Linked DNA regions of Homo sapiens: region 1 is linked to region 2. The links are contacts of gene promoters, found by promoter capture Hi-C in blood cells and fetal thymus (Javierre and others, 2016). All regions are on one chromosome and are shown on one strand. Each heading gives the region's core, a stretch centred on a gene start or on the middle of the fragment in contact. The rest is flanking DNA. Distances are from core to core; before and after follow the strand shown.

Region 1 (5,851 bases), core at 866-3,365, 120 kb before region 2:
CTTTTCCAATATAAGAATATGCTACATTTTACTCCATTGAACTATATTTTTTGAAATGCTGTCCCATTCCCTGATTTTTCTGTTATAAACAACATTGCAATGAGCATCCCATTTTTACTTTTACATAACTTCATTTTCTTAGTATAAGTTTCTAATTGGAATTCCTATACTGCAAGTTTTACTTTAACCACATCATTATCAGCCTTATTCATGGGACATGCTACTCTAGTTCTCACTACAAACTTTTACACTCAGTACTTGCTCTGCTCATAAACATTTGCCCAAATACAAATAAAATAATATTTCATTGAGCGCTGACTATATACCAAGCATGGGTCTAAGTACTTTATCTGTATTTAATGGAGTTTTCAAAACAATGCAATGGAATCGGTGTGATTATTAGCTTTGTTTCAATTATGAGGAAACTGAGGCACAGAGAGGGTAAAGTCATCCAAGTTTACACACCAGGAACTAGCTTCAAATCAGAAGTCTAGCCCAGAGACAGGTTTTTGCAGCCACTGCCCTATACTTCCCACAGCTGGCTCCAGCTCATCATTTGGGCTTTGTGTACAATGCTACCTCCTCCTGTCCTTCCCTTGATCATTGTTCCTAAAGCAGTCTATGCTTACCCTGACCTGCCCTGCCCCACTACCCCAAATCTGCTCTCTGACTTTTTCTTTCCCCAAGAGACTGGGTCCTATCATTTACATCTCCCAACTTTTTTTTTGCTGCCTGGTTTCTGGATAGATTCAGCCAACAGAATAAGCATGGGGAGAATTAGAAGGAAATCCTGCTATCTCAGTCTCCCTTTGGAGATAAAAGAACAAAAGGAGACTGAGATAGCAGGATTTCCTTCCAATTCTCCCTGTGCTTTATACTATGTCTCTAGCATAACTGAATCCCTCCAGCTCTTAGAAGAGCTGCCTGTTCTGCCAGCTCTTAGAGATGTTAATGGCTTCCTAATGTTGCTGGTCTCTGGGTGCCTCAGCATCCCTTGTTTGTTCCTGTATCCCAGTTCACATCTCTGTAAGTGGTGCCTTCACTAAAATCTCTTCATTGGAATCATCTGAGATAAACTATGTTTCCTGGCAAGAACCTGACTAATAGAATCAATATATTCTCTTTATTTTCTTCATGCTACTTTTTTATAATCTGAAGTCAACATGTGTATACTGTGTTTCTCTAGCTTCAAGTTTAAAATTCATAAATGGAATTTATGAATTCCATTACTCTGTTTCCTCAGCATGCAATAAATATTTGTCATACTTACTTATCTATGTGTTTATTTATTAAAGGGTCTACATATTAAATTGCCCTCCAGAAAAAAAAAAAAATATATATATATATATATATGTCTGTGTTTCTGTCAAAGAGTGGCCTTAAGTCAAAATATTTTTGTTAGATGCATCCTGAAACAAACAAACAGTCTATAAAATAGACATTGAGTTCCAGGGAGACCAATTCAAAGGTGCCTCTCAAAACACTTACTAATAGCCGCTGATTGAAGGCCATGGCTGGAGCCCAACAATCAGTGTCCTGTATTTTCTCTGATTAAAGTCAACATTTTTCTTTGAAAATTGTTGTTATTTAACAGGCAATCTAGAAATGGAACAAGCAGGCTGGAGGTTAGCACTGGTAAAAAAATTGAATTTTAATTAGAGAACCCACGTTCATCCTCAGGGATTGAATGGCAGTGAATACTAAGGCTTGTCTGGCTGAAGCTTTGGGCAAGAAAAGATCTGAGGAGCAGCAAGACCTCCCGGTAGAAGGGGCTGCATTTTCACCAAGAGGAATTGGAAGATGGGGTGGGCGGGGGAACTGGGGTTTAGCGGAGAGTTTTGATAAGGAGGATGGCTTTGGGAAGAGAAATAAAGACAGAGGGAGAAGACTCAGCACAAGAGTGAGGAAAAGCCATGGAGTCCCCTCCTCGCAAGGGGCCAAGCCCTTGAGGGACTTCCTTTATATGATACACAGCACAGAAAGCCAGCTGGAATGTAACCGCTGACCTTGTGCACTGAGGATCAGTGAGTTAGCCTCTTCACCTGTGGCATCAGAACTGTTTAGTTATGTGAACGAATACAGTCTATTGTTTTAGCCACTTTGAGCTGAATTTTCTGTTACTTATATTGGAAAGGTTCCTAACTGATAATTAATCTGGTACCAGAGATGCGTGAGGCAAGGAGGCCCTAAGAGGTGAGATCGGCTACAATGAGATAGGATGGAGGGTCGTGGGCATGTCTCTTTCCCATGCTGGGACGTTAGTGATCTGCATTACGTGTTTGCAAAACAGCTGGTTAAAATGCCACCTATGCTGTCTTGTGAGTCAGACTATGAAACTAGCTTGATAGATAGGATAGATAGGAAAATAGACTTGATAGGAAAATTTTAGACTATCAGAGTACATTAAGTACTTCTTGTGGTTCCGATAGAAAGAAATGACCTTCGACTGTCAGTGTCTGAAGGCAGAGGGGGATGGCACATAGGTCTCCCTTGTCCAAATGAAGCTTTTTTTTTTTTTGCCTTTAACCAGCAATCCAAACTGTCAAAGACCCCGGTAGTCTTGAGCTGGCATGAAGAAAAAAGCTAAACTCTCTAGTTGTAGCCCAAAGTAACTCCATTCAGGGAACTTCTGAAATACACGTTATTCCTGACACAAAGTTGTTATTCCTGTTATAGAAGGTCATTTATTCACAGACATACAGCCCCGGGGCCAAGTGCAGCTTATTAGTGAGTCCTCATGGGATCATTATTTCTTCTTTTTCAGGGGTAGAAGACAAAGTGTACGTCATTGAAGAGAAACAGGGGAATGAACATTGAAGGCCCATTTCTAGGCCATGCAGAAATTCCCAAACCTAATTTTAGAATCAAGTATTTCACTTTGGTCACTAGCCCAAATTGATGGGACCAAAGAGAATAAAACCCCACTATACATTTGTGGGAGTTTTGACAGAGAAATGTGTGGTAGTATTGACAGAGAAATTCCACGCCAGATTGCTAATAGCCTCTGCTTAACTCAACTTCTAAAGTGTCTGCAGAATGCTAAAAGTGAACTGAGAAGTGGGTTTCTAAAACACCATGGTCCCTTGTAGATCAGCGAGGAAGCACCTTCATTTAAGTGCTCTGGACTGTTTAGTTATGTGATTTTGACTCTGTTAACCTGGAAACTAGCTAAGATGGAATGTGTCAACTGTATGGTTGGTTCACAATGATTTTGAAAAAACAAAACAAAACAAAAAAGGACTCTTGATTGTTAAGTTACATCTGGACTTGGAGTAACAATAAAATAATTATAAATAGTTATTCTAATAGGCATGGCAATTTTTTGGTGTGTTTGGTGATTCTTATAAGGGGCACGTCCCTGTTATGAGAATCCTGCAATCTATGTCCCTGCAGTTCTTATAGGACATACTGGTTCCTATGGATCATGTGGCTTTTAAGTTAGGAAAATCCCTGCACCCTCCAATGTGAATCTCAACCTTTGATCTAAATTGTCACCTATGAAGAGGACAGCCTGTGGGCGGCTATGTGGACCAGTACACAGATTGCTGATGCAAAAGCTTCTGCTGAGAGAAATGCCTGACATTGTCTTACTAAATAGCAGCTGTTCTTATCTGATATCCTTCTGAGTCATTGGTGGCTAATGTGGCCTTCGGGAGTCTTTTGAGTTTGAATACTTAAATAAACCAGTGAAGATGCCCTTGGTGAGCAGAGCATGCTTAGAAAAACAAATTTCCCTGTTGTGTAACTCACATGTAACCATGGGAGACAATGAACAGGAGATCCTCCCAGAAACAAAAAGAGGCAATCAAAGTTTATTTTGTCTGTTTCCAAGTTTAAGACATTTTAAAAGGAAAAAAAAACCAACAATTTTATCTGCACATATGAACAGGACTGCTTGATATTTTATTTTAGACCTGGAGCTTGATGTGATCGATGGGACTCTATGTTATCTCCATTCAGCAGTAGTGTGAGAAGTTGTGAGTGTGTGTGTGTGTGTTTGGTTTTATTCTGTTTTGTTTCTGTTTTTTTAGCATGAGCATTTTAGAAATTCCCCATTCATCTTGGGAAGTAAAATAAATGAGGGTTTTACACAACCAAAATGAAGTAGTATAGTGGGTATGTACTATTTTGAGCCATTCAGCATCAACTGCTCCCTCCTTGATATGGTTTAGCTCTGTGTCCCCACCCAAATCTCATCTTGTAGCTCCCATAATACCCACGTGTTGTGGGAGGGACCCTGTGGGAGATGATTGAATCATGGGGTTGGGTCTTTCTCATGTTGTTCTCATGATAGTGAATGGGTTTCATGAGATCTGATGGTTTTGAAAACGAGAGTTTTTCTGCACAAGCTCTCTCTTTGCCTGCTGCCATCCACGTAAGATGTGACTTGCTCCTCCTTGCCTTCTGCCATGATTGTGAGGCCTCCCCAGCCATGTGGAACTGTGAGTCCAATAAGCCTCTTTCTTTTGTAAATTTCCCATCAGCAGCGTGAAAACGGACTAACACACTCCTGTTGGTAACAGAATCACAATTTTAATTCAGGTATGTACTCTCCTTTGTGTAGCCCATGAGCTTTGGAGGTCGATTCCATTTCTGGTCCCAGGTGTAATCCCTGACTCGCTTAAGCCCATTAGCATGTTTCAGTCTCTTGGGCATAGAGATGGTTTCAGGGGAAGGCATGGACATATGACTAAATTCTAACCCATAACACCTGAGGAGAAATTTTATAAGGGTTTCTAGGAAAGAAATGTCTGTTTGTTTGAAATAAGTGCCAGGAGAGGCATTCTCTTCCTACTAGAAGAAGTCTGGGGTCCCAGAAGATGCTGACAGACATATTATGACCACAAAGAAGTCAGTTCCAAGTGGAACCAAACTACGTGGAAGGCAGAAAGACAGATAAAAGGAAACGGGATGTTGGAGATACAACCGACCTGAGGATCAAGGCTCGCCTAAAATGTGTCCATCCTTTGTTAGGTTACTCAAGACAATACATTCTCCTTACTGTTTAATCCAGCTTGAGTCAAACCTCCACTGCTTGCATCTAAAACATTTCTTAATAATCTGTTTCCTGTTTATACACTAGACTCTTCATCTCATATATGTCATGTTATTTTTTCCCTGACTATGTACTTTAATGATAAAAGCCATAAATCCTTGGACTCTTGGGAGAATGCAAAACAGTTTCCTTGAATTTCCTGTAGATTCTGCCATATGCCATTTTCAGAAATACACTCTTTCCCTTGGTCTTTCCACGCTGTGGCTTCCTCGTGTCCATAGGTATGTGCTGTTGTCATTGCTCTAGCTCATCTTTAACTAAGGTGAAATTTGCCAAGATTCAATACAGAGGTTCAAAGCATCTTCCTATCTTTTTCCAGATCTTTTCTTTCATGAAATCAAATCAAAATAAGTTTTAACAGGACCAGTTTCCTTCCTTATAATTGTTTCATTCAGCCCAGACTATGGCATTAGGCAGTGCCAGTCTTGGGCTTCGGTCTGGTGATCATTCCCAGATTAGAGGGATCTGGTTAGAGAAACCCACTATATACAAGGTAGTAGATTGTTAACATAGGGATCTATTTAAGAAAAAAAAAAACAGTTAATTAAGTTATAGTGGACAAAATAGGAAAGCAGTCCCCAATTTCCCACTCTTGGTTCCTAGGAAGGATGCAGTCTGCTCATACTCTCAGGGTACAGGTGATTAGAGAGAATAAATAACAGCTCTCTTGGCTATGTTTTTGTTTGTTTGTTTGTTTGTTTGTTTGTTTTTTGAGACGGAGTATCGCTCTGTCACCCAGGCTGGAGTGCAATGGCGTGATCTCGGCTCACTGCAACCTCTGCCACCCGGATTCAA
Region 2 (5,644 bases), core at 648-3,147:
AGTTAACAAGCCCTCTGTGATAGGCAGAAAAATAGCTCCCTAAAGATGTTGATATGGTTTGGCTATGTGCCCCCACCCAAATCTCATCTTGCAGCTCCCATAATTCCCACGTGTTATGGGAGGGATCTGGTGGGAGATGATTGAATCATGGGGGTGGGTCTTTCCCCAACCGTTCTCATGATAGTGGAGAGGTCGCAGGAGATCCGATGGTTTTAAAAACGGCAGTTTCCCTGAACAAGCTGTCTCTTTGCCTGCCGCCATCCACATAAGATGTGACTTGCTTCTCCTTGCCTTCTGCCATGATTGTGAGGCCTCCCCAACCACGTGAAACTGTGAGTCCAATTAAACCTCTTTCTTTTGTAAATTGCCCAGTCTGGGGAATGTCTTTATCTGCAGTGTGAAAATGGATTAATACAGATGTCCAGATCCTAATTCCCAGAATTTGTGATACGCAATGCTACATGGCAAGGGAGAATTAAGGTTGCAGACAGAATGAAGGCTGCTAATTAGCTGACCTTGAGATGGGAAATTATCTAGATTATCTGGATAGGCACAATGTAATCACAAGGTCCTTCTAAGTGAAAGAAGGAAGCAGGAGACTCAAAGAAGGAGATGTGACACAGAAGCAGAGGCTGGAGCCATGAGATTGCTGACTTTGAAGATGAAGGAAAGGGCTGCAAGCCAGGGAATGCGGGAGCCTCTGGAAGCTGGAAAAAGCAAGGAAAATAGATTTGTCCCTAGATCCTGCAAAGAGAAACACATCCCTGCCTACACCTGGATGATAGCCCAGTGAGACCTGTGCTGGACTTCCAGGACCTACAGTCCTGGAAGATAGTAGTAAATCTGTGTTGTTTTAAGCCACTAAATGTGTGAAAATTTATCACAGCAGCCTTAGCAATGAATACACTGCCCAACTTGTAAGCAGAGGATGTGGTGGCTTCAAAGTCCAGGCTTTTTCCCTGCTACTCCTTTCTTTCTTTCCTCCCTCATGCCCAATATCTGTCATCTGTTGATTGGTTAGTAACATTCTCAACGCCTTACTGTTTTATTAAACTTATAAAAACAATGTATTGGTTTAAAAAAAAACAATTCAGTGGTTGTGAAGGTAAGAATCAATAGACAATTTCTCCACCGTTAGCCCCGCCTCTTATAGAAGCACATGCAGCATGTCTTCTTCATACACGAATGTAATGCTAAAGCTGATGCAGTGGCTCAGGCCTGTGATCCCAGCACTTTGGGAGGCCGAGGCGGGAGGATCACTTGAGCCCTGGCGTTCGAGACCAGCCTGGGCAACAAAGTAAAACCCTGTCTCTAACAAAAAATCAAAAAGTTAGCTGGGCGTGGTGGCGGCGCACTTGTGGTCCCAGCCTCTGAGGTGGAAGGATCGCTTGAGCCTGGGAGGTTGAAGCTGCAGTGAGCTGTGATGGCACCACTGCACTCCAGCCTGGGTGGCAGAAGCAGACCCTCCCCCTGGAGGGGAGGGGAGGGGAGGGGAGGGGAGGGGAGGGGAGGGGAGGGGGAAAGAGAGATCCTACTCTCCATTTTAATACAACTTGCTTTTTTAATTAAAAACTATAGCTAGAACCGATAGATTTCACTCGTCCTTAAAAATAGTCCTGTATTATTTTATATAAACATCTCTCGCTATTTATCAAGGCCGTCACTTGTTCAGAAGTATTCTCACTTTTGTTTTGTTTTGTTTTGTTCTTAACAATTTGCTCCCTATATTCCTGGGCTGGCGCCTAGGCCTGCATCCGGGATTTGGCGCCACATCTGCGGGCAGGGCCTCTGAGGTCTAGGGGAGGGACGGCGCCGGCCAAGTCCCGCCCCCGTCCGCGTCGACCAATCAGCTCCCTGGAAGGCCCCTCCTCACCACCCCCCACCCCCGCAGTCTCCGCCTAAGACTTTCCAAGTCCTGTAGTTTCGAGCCCGCTGCCCTTTGCCTCCTGGGCGGAGAAGCTGCTTCCTCCTGGGAACAACCGCCTCCCGCTCCTAGCAGGTTGCTACTGCCCCGAACCCGCGCTGCAGGGAACAGCGGGGCAAACAGTGAGTGGGGTTCAGCGTAGACTCTGGACCAGGAGAGGCCCGCGGTGACCGAGGCCTGGGCCCCGGGTTAGTGTCCGGGGCGGGGAGCGGTGGGCGGGGTGCGACGTTTAGCGTCTGGGGAGGGCCGGGCGTGGATTGCGGCCTCTGCGCGCGCCCCCAGGTGATAGAGCCGTTCCACCGAGGATCCCTTCCTTCGTCTCTACCCCGTTGATGATTTTTCTCTGCAGCTCGGTGCCTATTTCATTCTCGCCGCATTGTTATGCCCTCTGCTGGGCAGGAGGCGATGACCCCCCCTATTTTCGTAGGATTTGTTTTTTGCTCCGCAAGGAGCCATTAAGATCTGAGCTAGCAGGAACCCTCGAGGCGATTTGATCTCGCCAGCTGGGGGCTTGCATTCTTCTAGGCTAGCTTGTCTCCGTTAAGCCCAGGTGGAAGTTCTCATCCACCCCAGTGCTCTAGGCGCCCACGGGCGCAGTGTGGGTTTGTGGTGGGGGAAGGGACCTGGGGAGGGGTGGCGGTGAGAGCGGCGCGGGGATTCAGGCTGAATGTTAGTCTGGAATGCATTTGGCCTGAAGCAGCAAGTGCTGGGTGATACAGTTCCCTGGTAAACAGCCGAGAGCTGGCCGCTAGTTTGGCCCAACCTGCAACGGAAGAAGGCCTTAAGTACAGGAGAAAAAGATCTTTGCCAATTGGATAATCATGGAAATTTAGAAGAAGTACAGCTCGAACTAGACGTAAAGGACAGAATGTGTCTGTCTAGCTGACCAGCCAACCATCGGTCCATCACTTTCATCCTCCAAACTAGTGATTTGTTGATGAATTGGTTTCAATACTTTGTTTTAAAATGTTGAATAAAAAGTAAATGAAATATCTCAGAATGGTCTAAAAAATAATGAAACGAATGCCTGACCATCTCCTTGGGTCAAGAAATAGGGCGTCACAGTACCTTAGAAGCCCATGAGTCCCAACTGATGCCCATGGTCCATTCTCCTCCATTCTCTGAGATGTGACATCTTTCGTGATTTTTGTCTTAATTTAATGAATCCCTTGCTTTTCTTTTTAGTTTTACCATATTTGTGTGTGTATTCCTAAAACATATGTATTGGCTTTCTCATTATAATGACATTATATTAATGACATTATCCTGTACGTATTCTTAAGTTTTATAGATTCATCTTTCATGCTTCCTTCCATTTTCGTTTTCGTCATTTAAGGTGTAAATGTACATAATTTATCCATTCTACTGCTGATGGACATTGGATTGTTTCTACTTTTGGAGGTGTATGATTTATCTATAAGCTATGTAACAAATTACCCCAACACCTAGCAGCTTCAAACCAAAGCGAACAAACAAAACAAGTCCTGTTACCTCCTATCTTACAGTTTCTGTGATCAGGAATCCAGGAGGGGCTTAGCTGGGAGTCTCTGACTCAGGGTCTCTCACAAGCTGTATCAACAATCAAGGTATTGACTGGGCCTCAGTCATCTCAAGGCTAGGCGTAGGGTCGAGGACCTCTCCCAGGCTTACTCACATGACTGCTGGCAGGCCGATTGGCCTCACTGACCCTGGCTGTACACATCAGTTCTTTGCCACATGGGCCTCTGTATAAAGAATGGTTGCAACATGGCAGCTTACTCCCCCCAGAGAGAAGGCTCCCACAGAGAAAAAGAGAAAGACAGAAGTCAGATTCTTTCTGTAACCTCAGAAGCGACATCCCATTATTTTTGCCATTTTATATTCATTAGAAGTGAGTCCCTAGGCCCAACTCACACTGAAGGGAAGGGGGTGACACAAGGACATGAACACCTGGAGGCAGGGATTATCGGGGCCACTTTAAAGCCTGCCCATGTCCTCTAATATTCAAGTACACTTGTGTGGGAGCTTCCCTAGAGTATATAGCTGGGAGTAGAATTGCGGAGTTATAAGATTTATGTGTATTCAATTTTATTGGGTCATTTCTAAACTTTCCAAAGTGTTAAACCAGTTTGCACTCCCTCCAGCAGTGGATGAGCATTCTTGTTGCTCTACATGCTTGCCACAGCTTAGTCTTGTAAAATTACATTTTTTGTCAGTCTGGCAGGTATGAAATAGCATTTAACTGTGATTTTAACTAGCATTTTCCATAACTAATGAGATTGACTTTTTATATGTTGATCAGTGCTTTCTCTTTGTGAAATTCTGATTCCTGTCTCTTTCATTTTTGTATTGGATTGTTTGTTTACCTTTTTTATTGACTCATTGGAATGCTTTCTTTATATAATCTGGGTACGAAGCAGTAATTGTTAGCTATATATGCCACAGACATCTTTCCAATTTGCTTTTGAGGTTTTCTTTCTCTCTATGTCTTTATATCTGTTTCTTTCTCTGTTTCTATCAATGAATCTAAGTTTTGAATTTAATTTCAAGTTAGTAGTACTTTCTTTTATAGCTTTTCTTGTTTGATAATTGTTTTCTCAAGATCATAGATTAATTTTAGTGTATCGTTTTCTAAAAGTGTTATAGTTTTGCCTTTGGCAATTAGTCTTAATCCACATGGAAACTGATTTTTATGTTGTTTATTCCATATGGATAATCTGTTGCCCCAGCACCAGTGATTTGCATGAATCAGGATTTCCATATAAGCATGAATTCGTTTTAAGCCCCCATTCTTATTTTCTATTTGTCTAACTCTGCCTCAATACTAAATAATTTTTAACCACTATAGTTTTATTAAAAGCCTTGAAATTTGGTAGGAAAAGTCCTATCACCTGTTTCTTCTTCTTTAAGAGTGTTTTAGCTTTACTTGGACCTTTGACCTTCCATATAAATATTTAAATAAACTTATCAAGTTCTCCAAAACAAGAAACAAACAAGCAAATAAACCTGTTGGAATTCTGATTGATAATGGATCAACTCTGTGTCTTAGTCTGTTTTGTGCTACCATAGCAGAATACCTGAGACTGAGTAATGTATAAGGAACAAAAATTTATCAGCTCACAGTTCTGGAGGCTGGGAAGTCCAAGATTGAGTGGCTGGCATCTGGCAAGAAAGAGCCTTCTTACTGTGTCATTCCATGGCATAAAGGCAGAGAAAGGCTGAAAGAGAGTGTAAAAGGAGGGTGAATGCCGCCTTTTATAATGAACTCACTCCTACAGTGATGGCATTAATTCATTCACTCTGCTGTCATGACCTGATGGCCTCTCATTAAGCCCACCTCTTAACACCATTGCATTGGGGATTAAGTTTCCAACACCTGCTTTTTGAGGGACACATTCAAACCATTGCACTCTATAAATTATTTTGGGCAGAAATTATTTCTAAGACATTGGCCCTTTTCCTCAATGAACATGGTATATGACACTATTTAAGTCATCTTCAATGTTTTGTACTATTTTTTATTGTTTTCTTTTGGCTCAGTTTTTGTTAAATTTCTAGGCACGTCATATTTTTACTGCTATTGTAAGCATTTTCTTTTGTAAAAGTTATATTTTGTAGTTTATTGTTGCTGGCATACAGAAATTCAGTTGCCTTTTATATATTAATTATATATCAATCAAACTTGAGAAAATTAATAATTCTAAATTTACCTGTAGCTTCTTTCAGATTTGCTACATAGGC

Evidence for each region. The method cuts DNA at HindIII sites, captures the fragments that hold promoters and counts their contacts. A CHiCAGO score of 5 or more calls a contact.
Region 1: a fragment that was not itself captured here is called in contact with the fragment with the promoter of TCAF1 in region 2 in 1 of 17 cell types (M2 macrophages); the score reaches 5.1 in M2 macrophages.

Annotation. Positions count from the first base shown.
Region 1 is chr7:144,017,447-144,023,297 of GRCh38, reverse strand. No RefSeq gene overlaps it. Among named protein-coding and RNA genes, the nearest start is that of OR6B1, 20 kb to the right of the region's middle. The HindIII fragment of the contact is 783 bases long and covers 1,724-2,506 here.
Region 2 is chr7:143,898,429-143,904,072 of GRCh38, reverse strand. TCAF1 (TRPM8 channel associated factor 1) reads left to right here and starts at 1,897. Exons shown (of 9, transcript NM_014719.3): 1 at 1,897-2,112. LOC105375549 (a long non-coding RNA gene) reads right to left here. Exons shown (of 3, transcript XR_007060574.1): 3 at 2,120-5,644. RefSeq lists a silencer at 1,737-1,876 and enhancers at 2,667-2,716, 2,392-2,929. The HindIII fragment of the contact is 7,751 bases long and covers 1-5,644 here.